Linked DNA regions of Homo sapiens: region 2 is linked to region 1. Evidence: promoter capture Hi-C in human tissues and cell types (Jung and others, 2019). All regions are on one chromosome and are shown on one strand. The core of a region is centred on a gene start or on the middle of the fragment in contact, and the rest is flanking DNA. Distances in the headings are between cores, read along the strand shown. Region 1 holds the start of HPSE2 (heparanase 2 (inactive)). Region 2 overlaps HPSE2 (heparanase 2 (inactive)).

Region 1 (2,700 bases), core at 133-2,632:
CCTTCATCTGCCAAGTAGAAGTCCCATTTTGTCTCAGAAAGAAGCCGAAAGTGGGGCCCAGCAATGTGACTGCAGCAAACTGTGCCTGATCCCTTTCCCGCGCTTCAGGATAGGACCTAGAGTTCAATTTGCAAGCTGTTGTGGGGTGGAAGCTCAATGAGCAGCGGCGGGTCGTGCATCACAGCGGCTTCCGGCTGTTATTCCCCATCCAGGGCTATGTGACTCTGGTTTTGACTGGGGGCCGAGATGGAAACCCGAAAGTGTCACTATGGTCCCATCTGGCACTGTAAAGGCGCACTTCCCTGCAGGAGGGCTAAGTATAGGATTGACCTCCAGGAGGGTCTGGAGGGGGGACTCTACCTGTGCAGCAGAATAGAGTGGCCAAGAAGTGGCACAGTTGGACGCAGAGCCGCCCTGACTATCCAAGCACAGCTCAGGTAGCTTCGACTTGGCCAAAGCCAGCATGTATTGACGCTCCCAAGACGCTTATTCCTCGGTTGCGGGAAGAGCAGAGCAGAGCGAGGGCGCATGTCCCTTTTGGCCCTCGGATCGGAAAAGCTGCTTGACCAGGTCACTATGTTTTTCCTTCTTGCTACTCTTTGCCCTATGGAGGTCAGAGGATGCTTCGGTGTGGCTATCCAACGCGTCACAGAGATCAGGGCTCCTCTTCGGGGAATGTCCTTCAGGGCTCTATGCTTTGACAGGAATCACCGCCTCAAGACCCCTCTGCAACTTAACCGCCCTTGGTATTGCTGCTTCAACCAGAAAAGGGCCCTGAGCGGACGAAGTGCCTGACGCTGTCAGGAGAAACAAGCGTGCTGTCGGTGGGAACTCTATCCCAGCGCGTCCCGGGTTGGCGCTGGGGCTTTCGGGTCGGAGTCGGAGCTTGAACCGCCCTCCAGAGCCTCTCAGGGAAGGACGTAAAAACGAGACCCTTTGCTCTGTACCCAGACGGTACAACGGCATGGTTTGGATTCCTCCCTCTGCTTCCTGACCCTAGAGGGTTAAATTAGGAGGGTACAACGCCACCCTTTTCTCCTCCTTCCCGCCTGCTCCCCTCCCCTTACCTTTAAAAAGTTAAAAAATGTCTGCAGTAGAAATCTCTTAAAGGGGCGGTGCCGGTGTACGAGTTCTCTTGGCAAGAGTCACGGGGAAGGCTGGCTAGGGGCGTGAGTTCGCTCCACCAGCACCAAAACACTGAAAAAAAAAATTAAAAAAAATTAAAAAAAAAAAAGAAAAAAACAAAACGAGCGAGCGAGCGAGCGAGAGAGAGAGAGAGCGGGAGAGAGAGAGAGTGTGTGTGTGTTGGGGGGGTGGTGGGAGGAAGGGAAAAAAAGGGGGGAAAAAGGCGGACAGACACACACTTTAGATAAGGACAATTAGTCACTAGCGAGACCCAGTAGGAAGAGAGGTTTAAATCAGAGGGATTGAATGAGGGTGCTTTGTGCCTTCCCTGAAGCCATGCCCTCCAGCAACTCCCGCCCCCCCGCGTGCCTAGCCCCGGGGGCTCTCTACTTGGCTCTGTTGCTCCATCTCTCCCTTTCCTCCCAGGCTGGAGACAGGAGACCCTTGCCTGTAGACAGAGCTGCAGGTTTGAAGGAAAAGACCCTGATTCTACTTGATGTGAGCACCAAGAACCCAGTCAGGACAGTCAATGAGAACTTCCTCTCTCTGCAGCTGGATCCGTCCATCATTCATGATGGCTGGCTCGATTTCCTAAGGTAAGGCAGGGGTTTCGATGGATCATTTAAAATTTTTTAGTAACACCCCCTCAAGCCCTTCCTATCCCCCATTCCAAAGGGGAAAGAAGAAAATAAGCCAAGCAGATCTCTCAAAGAGAAGAAAAGAGGTTTTCCTTCTCCTGGATTGTGTGCTGTGAGGCTGTAACTAGTGATTGAGAAAAGCAATGTTTTCTATTAAGATGCACATGTTTGCAATGCAGAAGGCATTTCAGAAACTTATCAGTTATGACTGAAAAAATGTTGTGCTTACATATATCCACAATTAGCCTTCCCGTCTACTTCTGAAAAAGAAACAAGAGGTTCAGAGCAGTTACAAAAGCGAAGAAAAGGTCTCAAACAACAAAGAGCTGAAAGGAATGGGTATGTGTGTGTGTGTGTGTGTGTGTGTGTATGTGAGACAGGAGAGTGTGTGTGTGTGAGTGTTCAAGCGGGATTGCACGAAACTGGAATTTTCCACGGAAAGATCGTTTCGTCAGTTCTCTCCCACTCTCAGAAAACGAATTTAAGCAGAGGCTTGAGTGGTGGGCAAGTTGGATCGGAGTTAAAATTTTTTATTTTATATCCTCCGCTGTCATTTCCAGACTTCAGGACTTTGTAAGGCGCTTTTTATAGACGGAATGCCCCCCTCCCCCCGCCAGTTCCTCCTCCTTAAATCTCCTGCGGTAACTGCACAGTTTAGCTTTTCTTTAAAGGAAAAAAAAAATCCTCGCTGGGGTCACAGCGTTATAAGGGAAGCGGTAAGAGTCCTAGAAATACTCCAGGGAGGCTTCGGAGATCTGAACTCCGCACCAGCAGATTAGCAAACCCGGAGGTTTGTGATCCCCTTTGCTCTAGGGCTTGTAATCTAATTGGGCTCACACTCTTCCCGGGTTGTTGCAGTTTGGCAGTTAGGCAACTGCGATCCCTTCCCATCAGGGACAGAGTTGCAGTGTAAAATAAGAAATAAATCCTCTGCAAT
Region 2 (2,700 bases), core at 46-2,545, 420 kb after region 1:
TTAGCCAAGTCGTTTTTCTTAGCCTTTCTAATTTAGAGTGCCCAGAAATTTTGATTATAGCCAAGGCAGAGGGAAGTTGAATTGAATTTAATAAATTATTGACAAAAGTTCCATTTTTAATTTGGTTCCCTCTGGAGGTTAAAAATCCTTTTTGTTTCCAAAGCACACCAAAATCACGAACAACCCCAAAGGCGTAACGGCTGTTGGTGTAAACGTTTGCAGTTTTATTTTCACCAGAATATAAGCCCTGATTAAGGCATAAAGTTCTGCTTGTTGGGCTGAAGTAGCCATCAGCAGTGCAGCTTCTTCAACTATAGTCACGTGCTGCATGTAGTCATGTGCTGCACATTTTTGTCAACTGACCACATATATGACAGTGTCCCATAATTGTAATACCTTATTTTTACTGTACCTTTTCTATGTTGAGATATGTTTAAATATACAAATACTTAGCATCATGCTATAATTACCTACAGTATTTAGTACAGTAATATGCTATACAGGTTTTTAGCCTAGGAGCAGTAGGCAATATCATATAACTAGGTATGTAGAAGCCTAGGTTTAAGTATACTCTATAATATTCTGTTCATACAATGATGAAATTACCCAACAATGCACTTCTCAGAATGTATTCCCGTACTTAAGAGATGCATGTCTGTACTTCAAGAAAAGTTATAGTATATCTAGCACAATATTCTCCTATATTTTAATCTGTCATTTATGATGTGTCAGTAAACCATGAAAGTTCTGTATTTGGTCTAGGAATTTCATGTAAATTGACTTTAGGTTTTAGCTGGCCACTTAGATTTGAACAGTCATGATGTGTCTCATCAACAGGTAGGGGAAGGAGGGTTACTGGATTAAGAGTATTGCAGTGAGAAAGAATGTGAGAAATCAACAGCAAGATCTCATAAGAAGTTAGTCTGCTCAGAATAATACTGAGTATGATGAGAGTTCTCTACGGTTTCTACAAAGCTTCTACAGCATGAAGAACATAGACAGTGAGAGTAGAGTTCGTGATTATCTCTTCTGTAGAGTTAATTAAAGCTGTAGTGGCTGATATAGCTGTCATGCAGAGAGGGAGTCAGCTATTGAACCTAATTGCTGGCTATAATAGCCAATGGGTCTGTGTTGAACTCAATGTTTTGGGGTAAAGAACCCCCAACACATTTATTTATTTTTCATGCACAAAAATGAAGAAAGAGAGCTGATGATTGGGGTACCTTAAGGCAGGAAGACTTAGAAATCCTTCTTTTGATAGAAGGCCATACAGGCATTCTCTTTTTAGCCCAGGGGATCTGGGTTGTCAAATTTCTGAAGAGCATATAAGGGTTATGCTATCAAAGGAAAATTAGGTATTCAGTTTTGACAGAACCTGCCAGCCCCTATCTCCTTTGTAATAGTCTCAGTCTGAGATTGAGGAAAGTTTAAATACCATTAAGTCTGTCAGGATCCAAGAGAAGTCCTTGGTTTTATATCATGTATCCCAAATGTTTGACATGGTCCTGGGTAAATTATAGTCTTTCCCTGGAAACTTTGTGGATTTTGTCTGCTAGAAGTTTAAGGAGATGAACATAATCATGTTCACAAGGAACAAAGAAGGAGGTCATCAACATACTGCAAGAGAGTCAATCCTTGGGGGAAAGACATGTCTGTTAAATATGTCTTCAGTATCTGAAAAGTAGGGAGGGCTTTTGGTATACCCTCAAGACATTACTATCTAGGTATATTGTTGACTTTCCTACGTGAAGACAAATAAAATTTGACTCCCAGTGTCCACATGAATGCTTTTTTTAAAAAAGTAATATAAAAGTATGTCACTATAAAATTTACATTCTGTGAGGATGGAAGTCATGAGAGTATGGAGATTTGGAATGACAGGGTGTCAAAGAGTGACAATATTATTAATGTTTCATAGGTCTTGTATAAATCTCCATCCATGTCCATGAGATGTCTTTATAGGAAGGTTAGGAGTACTACAGGGGCTAGTACTAGGCGCCACAAGATTCCTAGCTTTACATTCTTCTGTAATTGGCTTAATTTCTGCAGAAGTTTCAGGATTTAAGGAGTATTGTCTGATATTAGGAAGGGGCTTGTTTGGGTCAATTTGAGTCTTTATCAGGAGAGCCCAGTGGATTTGTCCAATGTCTGTTGTAGATTTATCCAAAACTTCCTCAAAAAGCTCTTTTAAAAAGAATTAAACTGTCAACATTTTCATTATTTAGGTTAAAGACAAAAGTAGGCAAGAGTGTTGAAGAATTTTCACTGTTGTCAGTTAAAGGTGATGGGGATGTAAATCAGCTTTAAGAATTATCTTACCCTTATGGGAAAAGGTAATGGCCACATGATGTTTTCCTAAGAAGTCCCTTCCAAGTAAGTGAACTGGGGCCAAGAGAACTGGTTAAAAAAAAAAAAAAAAAGAATGATTGTAGAACCTAATTGAAAAAGCAAGGGGAAAGATTTGTAAACTGTTAAAGGTATATTAGAAACTCCTACCATTTGCATTTTTTTTCAGTACTTCAAGGAAGGAACTGGTTGAGGCTGATGAGTGTCAAATACAGAGGATTGCCCCAGTGTTGATAAGGACAGTGAGAATCTCCTTTCTGATCATGACAGGGGTTGCACCCAAATGATTAAGAGACAAGATTGAAAGATCGCCTGTAGGTTTTTTGGAGCACCCTCAGTCTATAAGGAACATAG

What was found. The method cuts DNA at HindIII sites, captures the fragments that hold promoters and counts their contacts. A contact is called where the count stands out against the background at its distance.
Region 2: a fragment that was not itself captured here is called in contact with the fragment with the promoter of HPSE2 in region 1 in 2 of the 25 tissues and cell types used here (bladder and lymphoblastoid cells).

What each region holds. Positions count from the first base shown.
Region 1 is chr10:99,234,534-99,237,233 of GRCh38, reverse strand. HPSE2 (heparanase 2 (inactive)) reads left to right here and starts at 1,382. Exons shown (of 12, transcript NM_021828.5): 1 at 1,382-1,721. The coding sequence starts at 1,432. RefSeq lists enhancers at 1-304, 305-805. The HindIII fragment of the contact is 13,698 bases long and covers 1-2,700 here.
Region 2 is chr10:98,819,142-98,821,841 of GRCh38, reverse strand. All of the region lies in intron 3 of HPSE2 (heparanase 2 (inactive)), which reads left to right. Among named protein-coding and RNA genes, the nearest start is that of MIR6507, 100 kb to the left of the region's middle. The HindIII fragment of the contact is 7,751 bases long and covers 1-2,700 here.